3 separate regions of the Homo sapiens genome follow, and regions 1 and 3 are each linked to region 2. Evidence: promoter capture Hi-C in 16 types of primary human blood cells and fetal thymus (Javierre and others, 2016). All regions are on one chromosome and are shown on one strand. The core of a region is centred on a gene start or on the middle of the fragment in contact, and the rest is flanking DNA. Distances in the headings are between cores, read along the strand shown.

What was found. Contacts are between HindIII fragments. The CHiCAGO score rates a contact against its expected background, and 5 or more counts as called.
Region 1: a fragment that was not itself captured here is called in contact with the fragment with the promoter of SUSD1 in region 2 in 1 of 17 cell types (megakaryocytes); the score reaches 9.7 in megakaryocytes.
Region 3: a fragment that was not itself captured here is called in contact with the fragment with the promoter of SUSD1 in region 2 in 11 of 17 cell types (erythroblasts, endothelial precursors, non-activated CD4 T cells and 8 more); the score reaches 7.1 in erythroblasts.

What each region holds. Positions count from the first base shown.
Region 1 is chr9:112,317,766-112,320,465 of GRCh38, forward strand. All of the region lies in intron 1 of PTBP3 (polypyrimidine tract binding protein 3), which reads right to left. Among named protein-coding and RNA genes, the nearest start is that of PTBP3, 15 kb to the right of the region's middle. The HindIII fragment of the contact is 7,603 bases long and covers 1-2,700 here.
Region 2 is chr9:112,174,015-112,176,714 of GRCh38, forward strand. SUSD1 (sushi domain containing 1) reads right to left here and starts at 1,283. Exons shown (of 17, transcript NM_022486.5): 1 at 1,119-1,283. The coding sequence starts at 1,221. RefSeq lists a silencer at 742-1,401. The HindIII fragment of the contact is 4,774 bases long and covers 1-2,700 here.
Region 3 is chr9:112,355,532-112,358,231 of GRCh38, forward strand. It overlaps a transcript of PTBP3 not described here. Among named protein-coding and RNA genes, the nearest start is that of HSDL2, 23 kb to the right of the region's middle. The HindIII fragment of the contact is 4,467 bases long and covers 1-2,700 here.

The DNA.
Region 1 (2,700 bases), core at 78-2,577, 140 kb after region 2:
GTGAAACCTTGTCTCTACTAAAAATACAAAAATTAGCCGGGCATGGTGGTGTGCGCCTATAATCCCAGCTACTCAGGAGAGGCAGGAGAATCGCTTGAACCCGTGAGTCGGAGGTTGCAGTGAGCCAAGATCGCGCCACTGCACTCCAGCCTGGGTGACAGAGCTAGACTCAAAAACAACAAAAAACAAACAAACAAATCCATTATGAACAACTTTACATGCATAAATCCCAACAACTTAGTTGAAATACAAAAATTCCTTGAAAGATACAAATCCAACACCCATTAATGTTACCAAAGAACAACAAACAAGAAATAAGAAATGTTTCCAACTTAAAAAAGGGCATCTAAGAAAAACCTACAGCTAAGAAAAACTGCCTGTTTTCCCGTAAGGAGCAGCAGTAAGGCAAAGATACATAGAAGTCAGAAAAAGAAATAAAGGTCACCCAGATTAGAAAAGAATAAAACTACATTCTCAGATGACATGATCATGTACATTAAAAATCCTAAGAAATTTACCCAAAAAAAGGTAATAAGTAAGTTTTTATAGCAATATCACAAAACACAAGATCAATATGCAAAGTATTTCTATATATTGACAATAAAACACCATTTACATTAGCAAGAAAAATGGCATACATGTGCAAAACCTGTACACTGAAAACAACAAAACAACATTGAAAGAAATTAAAGACGACATAAAAGAATTTGAAAGCTGGGTGCAGTGGCTCACACCTATAATCCCAGCACTCTGGGAGGCCAAGGTGGGCAGATCACTTGAGGTCAGGAGTTCAAGACCAGCTTGGCCAATATGGTGAAACCCCATCGTGACTAAAAATATAAAACTTAGCTGGGCATGGTAGCACACACCTGTAGTCTCAGCTACTCAGGAAGCTAGGGCAGGAGAATCACTTGAACCTGGGAGGCAGAGGTTGCAGTGAGCTGACATCCCACTACTGCTCTCCAGCCTGGGCAACAGAGTGAGACTGTCTCCAAAAAAAAAAAAAAATTGAGATATTGTTTCATAAAAGACTCAATATGCTTGAAATGTCAAAAAGAAATTAAGAAAATTTCATTTATGGGCCGGGCACAGTGGCTCACGCCTGTAATCCCAGTACTTTGGGAGGCCAAGGCGGGCAGATCACCTGAGGTCGGGAGTTCAAGACCAGCCTGACCAACATGGAGAAATTCCGTCTCTACTAAAAATACAAAATTAGCTGGGTGTGGTGACACATGCCTGTAATCCCATCTACTCGGGAGGCTGAGGCAGGAGAATCTTTTGAACCTGGGAGGCGGAGGTTGCAGTGAGCCGAGATCATGCCATTGCACTCCAGCCTAGGCAACAACAGCGAAACTCCGTCTCAAGAAAAAAAAAAAAAAGAAAGAAAATTTCATTTACAATAGCTACAAAAAAAAAATACTCAGAAATAAATTTAACCAAGAAGGGTACATCAAAAATTACAAAACACTGAAGACGGAAATTGAAGACACAGCCAGGAGCAGTAGCCCACACCTGTAATCCCAGCATTCTGGGAGGCCAAGGCAGGAGGATCACTTAAGCTCAGCAGTTCGAGACCAACCTGGGCAATACAGAGAAACTGCGACTTTACAAAAATAAAAAAATAGCCAGGTGTGGTAGCGTGTGCCTATAGTCCCAGGTATTCAACAGCCAACAGGTATATAAAAACGTGTTTAACATCACTAATCATCAAGACACTACAAATTAAAACCACAAGGAAATATGACCTCACATCTGTTAGAATAGCTATTATCAAAAAAGGAAAAAAAGAAACCCTTGTACACAGTTGGTGGGAATGTAAATTAGTACAGTCATTATGGAAAACAGTATGGAAGTTTCTAAAAATATTAAAAATACAACTACCATATGATCCAGCAATCTTTCTACTGGGTATATATCCAGAGGAAATGGAGTCAGTATGTTGAAAAGACATCTGCATTCCCATGTTCATTGCAGAATTATTCACAATAGCCAAAATATGAAACCAATCAAAATGTCCCTCAGTGGATGAATGGATAAACAAAATGTGGTATACATGTACAATGGAATATTACTCAGTCTTTAAAAAGAAGGAAATCCTGTCATGAGACAACATGGATAAACCCGGAGGACACTGCGTTAAGCAAAATAAGCCAGGCGCAGAAAGTCAAATGCTGCATGATCCCACTTACACGCAGAATCTAAGAAAGCTGAAATCATAGAAGCTGAGAGTATAATTGTGGTTACCAGGGGCTGGGGGTGAAACTGAGGAGATTTTGGTCAAGGATACAAAATTTCAGTTAGCAGAAATAAGTTCGAGAGATCAATTGTTTAACATGGTGACTATATACTTCAGTTTTTAAAATTAGCTGGGCATGGTGGCATGCACCCTATAGGCCTAGCTACTCAGGAGGCTGAGGTGGGAGGATCACTTGAGCCCAGGAGTTCAAGGCTGCAGTGAGCTATGATTGCACCACTGCAATACAGCCTGGGCAACAGGACGAGACCCTTTCTCTTAAAAAAAAAAAAATATATATATATATATATATATATTTTTTTTTAAGTGTTATCACCAGAAAAAATGATAAGTGACAATGCATATGTTAATTAGCTTGATTTAGTCACTGCACAATGTATATTACAAAACATGTTGTATATCATGAATATATACAATTTTTGTCAATTAAAACTAAAAAACACATT
Region 2 (2,700 bases), core at 33-2,532:
TAGACCCACTTTTCTTGTCACTCCCTGAGACGGCTTCCAGTGGCTTCCAGGCACAGCTAAGTCCAAAGGCCTAGGTCTGCCAATCAAGGCACTCTGCCCTCTGCCTCTGGTGCCTCCGTGTGCTTCCTTCCCTTCTCCCCCGGGCCTGAATTCTGAAGGAATTCATTCATTCTACACTCATTTGTGGAGAGGTGACAGTGCCTTCTGCTATGAGCTGGGATACCTTTTTCACATTTTCCCATATCCAAATATGACCAATCATTGATGGCCCAGCTCAAGGGTCACCACCGATTCCCCTTTCCCTGCCCTCACCACCCACACCTTCTCATGGCACCCATGCCATTCTGCCTTGTATTACAGTTATGTGGATGAATGTCACCTCCCCTGCGTGTCTGAATCCTCTGTGTAATTCCTACTCAGCTCAACACTGCATTTTGCAGAGGAGGAAAAACAACTCCCTCGATTGCTTGGAAATAGAACATTTGCTGGTCTAAATCCTCCAGACAATGAGCTCCACGAGGGCCCGCACTGCCCGCCCTCATCGCGCACAGGGAAGCTGTTCAAGGGCCATCTGTTGAATGAATGAGTGAATTAATGGCTTCACTCCTGTACTCTTCCTTACGCGTCTTTCTCACCATATTTAGCATCCGGCTCTCTAACAACGTGAAAAAATTAAAAGTGGTAAGAAAATTGCTTCGGGTCAAAAATGTGTCATGCAAAAGCCACCGCAGAGCCGGAAGCGTGACAGCGCCGCAGAACGCCCTGGCCTCCCCGCCCTTCCCCGGGCGCCGCCCTGCCCGGGTCCGCGCTCGCGCCCAGCCCCCACCCCGCCTCCTGGGCAGTGGAGGTCCCTGGGGGCCCGGCCAGGCCGCCTTAAAACCGGCGTCCCCCGGCGTCGCGGGGTCGGGCGGGGGCAGGGAAGCCCGGCGGGGAGCCCCCCGCTTCTCTGAGCTCCTCCTTGCCGATCTCCAACGGCCGGCGCGGGCCCCACCTGCGCCCCACGCCTCGGCACCGCGCCGGCCCGGCCCAGGGGCGGGGAAGCGTCCGTGCGCCCAGAGTCCTCGAGGCCCAGCCGGGGGCCCCGCCGGCCGCCCGTGCCCGTCCCAGCCCGCACTCACCGTCGGGGCCCGGCGCTCCCGCGGCGCCGCGGGCCAGGCCGAGCAGCAGCAACAGCGGCAGCAGGCGGCGAGACGGGCCCGCATCCCAGGGCCCCCGGCCCATGCCGCCGCCGGTCCCTCCCGGCGCGCCCGCGCCTCCTCCCGGGGCCCTCAGGGTGCAGAGATAAGGCTACAGGCGCCGCGGGGAGGGGACCAGCCGGCGGCTTCCGGCGCCGCCGAGGGAAGCGGGGGGCGCTGCGGGGTCCCCGGGAGGCCGCAGAGCGCGGGTCCTTCCTCTTGTCGGGGCCTGGGCTTAGGACACGCCCGTTCCGCGTCCGTCTCTGGCTCCGCACTTGCTGCCCTCTCGCCGCTCACATTCGCAAAGGGGGACAGACACTCATCGGATAATGACACAGCTGGACGCAGAGCCCCGGAGAGTGCTGGGGAGGAAATGTTGCGGAGGATTCAAGCCACTCGAGGGCTCAGGGAGGCACCCCCGGGGAGAGGGGTGAGGGGAGCAAGGGGCGGAAATCTTCCAGGACGTGAAAGGGAGCTGGATGAGGTGACCACAGCGCAAGGCCCAGATGAGAGGTCGGAAGACGCAGACCCAGGCCACCCAGGGGCGACACACTTGACCAGGTGACACCTGGTCACCGGGAGTGAGAGAGAGTAGGGCTGTGATGGAGGGAGGGGCTGGCATCAGTCCCCGCTGCTCTGAGGACACCCGGCTTGGGACGCGCTGATGCCAGCCCCTACCTCCATCACAGCCGTACTCATCCCAAGGGAAGGAGTAAACCAAGACCCAAGGATGAGAAGGACGTTGGGGAGGAATCTAAGCGGGAGTTTGTTGTAGAAATGGGGAATGGGGACCTAGAGTGAGAGCAGAGGGTTGGAGAGGGGCGTTGAGCTGCAGAGGGAAGTTAGCCCTCCTAACCCAAGTGATGGAGGTCGCCGGGAAGCTGTCACAGTTTCAAGCAGTGAATGACTTCATCACTGACACATCTCTGTCTGTTCTGTGGAATTGGGATTGGGGTTGGGTTGGGATGTGGAAGGCAAAGAGTCCAGCCCGGAGTTGCTGCAGGAATCAGGCAATAGAAGACATGTCCTGGCCCGGTGCGGTGGCTCACGCCTGTAATCCCAACACTTTGGGAGGTCGAGGCGGGTGGATCACTTGAGGTCAGGAGCTCGATACCAGCCTGGCCAACTTGGTGAAACCCCGTCTCTACTGAAAAAAAAAAAATTAGGTGGGCACGGTGGCAGGCACCTGTAATCCCAGCTACTCGGAAAGCTGAGGCGAGAGAATTGCTTGAACCCAGGAGGCGGAGGTTGAAGTGAGCCGAGCTCGCACCACTGCACTCCGGACTGGGCGACAGAGTGAGACTCCATAGACAGATAGATAGATAGATAGATAGATAGATAGATAGATAGATAGATAGATAGATAGACAGACAGACAGACAGACAGACAGATAGAGATAGAGATAGATGTGTCCTGCAGCTGGGCATTGACAAATGAGTGTGAAGAGGGCAGTGTGTAAGAGTGGAATCCACTAGGTTTTATGACTAGTCGGGGAGAAGGAAATAAATAAGATCCGGTTTGAAGG
Region 3 (2,700 bases), core at 138-2,637, 180 kb after region 2:
CATCAAAGACCCGTCTTCTTTTGTTTCCATTACATAAGCATATGGCTTTCATCATTCTTAAGATTACAAAATGGCTAAGAACTCTTTTTCTTTTTTTTTTTTTTTTTTTTGTGGAGGGTGGGTGTTGGGGAGTTGCCCAAGCTGGAGTGCAGTGGCGTGATCACAGCTCACTGCAGGCTTGACCTCCTGGGTTCAAGCAATCCTCAGCCTCCTGAGTAGTTGTGATTACAGGCATGCGCCACCGCGCCTGGCTAATTTTTGTATTTTTTTGTAGAGACAGGGTTTCGCGTTGGCCAGGCAGTCTCAAACTCCTGGACTCAAGCCATCTATCCGGCTTGGGCTCACAAAGTGCTGGGAATACAGGCAGGAGCCACCACACCCCACCTGGAAATAAAAGTTTCTTTCTTTTCTTTTCTTTCTTTCTTTCTCTTTCTCTTTCTCCTTCCTTCCTTCTTTCTTTCTCTTTCTTTTCTTTCCTTCCTTCTTTCCTTCTTCTTTTCCTTCTTCCTTTCTTCCTCCCTCCCTTTCTCTCTCTCTCTCTCTTAGATGGATTCTCCTGCCTCAGCCTCCCAAGTAGCTGGGATTACAGGCGCACACCACCACACCAAGCTAATTTTTTGTATTTTTAGTAGAAACAGGATTTCACCATGTCGACCAGGCCAGTCTAGAACTCCTAACCTCAGGTGATCCACCCGCCTCGGCGTCCCAAAGTACTGAGATTACAGGTGTGAGCCACAGTACCGGACTGGAAACTCTTTAAAGCAGCTTTCCCAGAAGTCCTTCCCAGCATCTTCCACATACGTCTCATAAGCCGTAATTTGGTCATGTGGCCATCCCTGGCTGTAAAAGTGGCTGGGAGGTGCAGTGTTTTTGCTGGTTATATTGTCACCTCTAAAAATAATGTTGGTAAGAAGTAGTGGGTAAGCCACTAGCAGTCTGTGTGACATAGCAGTTGTCATATAGTTAAGATTTTTTTCTCTTATGCAATAATTCCACAACTCTTTGGTGAAGAGTTGTGTGGGGCTGGTGTGGTACATAAAGCAACAGAGCAAAAAAAAAAAATGGTGAAATACAGCTTGATCCATGTAGTCACTCCGCTGCTTGTGCTCATATAAGGGAGCAATTGTCTACTGAGGGAATTGTTTTCTAGAATTCCAGGTATCTAGCTCCAAGTTGAGGAAAACCCACAGTGTACTTTGGAGCAGTGGGATTGTCAGAGATATAAGGGAAAGACTCAAGAGGCTTTTGAGACAATTGCGTGTGCGCACACACACACACACACACACACACACAATTTGGCCCCAACCATTTCATTTCAGAGCAGGTGTATATTCATTTCCCTCTTTTTTTTTTTTTTTTTTTTTTGAGACAGAGTTTCACTCTTGTTGCCCAGGCTGGAGTGCAATGGCGTGATCTCAACTCACTGCAACCTCCACCTCCCAGGTTCAAGCGATTCTCCTGCCTCAGTCTCCCGAGTAACTGGGATTATAGGCACCCGCCACCACACCCGGCTAATTTTTTTGTATTTTTAGTAGAGACGGGGTTTCACCATGTTGGTCAGGCTGGTCTCGAACTCCTGATCTCAGGTGATCCGCCCACCTCAGCCTCCCAAAGTGTTGAGATTACAGGCATGAGCCACCGCACCCGGCCTCCCTCTACCTTTTAATACTTCATACTAAGACGTGGAAATTCTCTTGCATAACCCAGCAGAGTTGTCAAATCAGGAAATTCATTACTGATACAATACTTTAATCTCTACTGCATATTCCAATTTGTTAATTTCCAGTAGTGTTCTTTTTGTGTTGTTGTTGTTGTTGTTTTGTTTGTTTGTTTTTTCTGAGCAGGGTCTTGCTCTGTCATCCAGGCTGGTGTGCAGTGGTGCAATCACAGCTCACTGCAGCCTCGACCTTCCTGGGCTCAGTTGATCCTCTTACCTCAGCCTCCTGAATAGCTGAGACTACGCGCAGGCAGCCATGCTTACTAATTTTTGTATTTTTTATAGAGACAGGGTTTTATCATGTTGCCCAGGCCGGTCTTAAACTCCTGGGTTCAAGCAATCTGCTAGACTCAGCTTCCCAAAGTGTTGGGATTACAGGTGTGAACCACTGCACCCAGCCTGCCAATAGTGTTCTTTATAGCAATTTTTTTTTTCTATACAGGAACCAGTTCAGGATTATGTGTTGCGTTGAATTGTCATTTCTTCTTTATTGCAGCTTCTTAGACTTTCTTTCTATTTTTTTATGACATCGACATTTTTGACTTCTTATTCACCTTGGAGAAGGTGTAAACAACTGGAGCAATTTTGCCTCCAGAGGACATTTGGCAATTTCCAGAGACATTTTTGGTTGACAAAACTGGAAGAGTTGGAGATAGATGGGGTGATGGTTGCACAACAATGTAAATGTACTTAATGCCGTTGAACTGTACACTTCAATATAGTTAAAATGGTAAATTTTATGTTAGGTATGTTTTACAAAAATAAACAAAAAAATTTGGCCAGGCGCGGTGGCTCATGCCTGTAATCCCAGCATTTTAGAAGGCCAAGGCAGGTGGATCATCTGAGGTCGGGAGTTCAAGACCAGGCTGGCCAACGTGATGATACCCTGTCTCTACTAAAAAAAATAAAAAATTAGCTGGGCGTGGTGGCAGGTGCCTTTAATCCCAACTACCCAGGAGGCTGAGGCAGGAGAATTGCTTGAA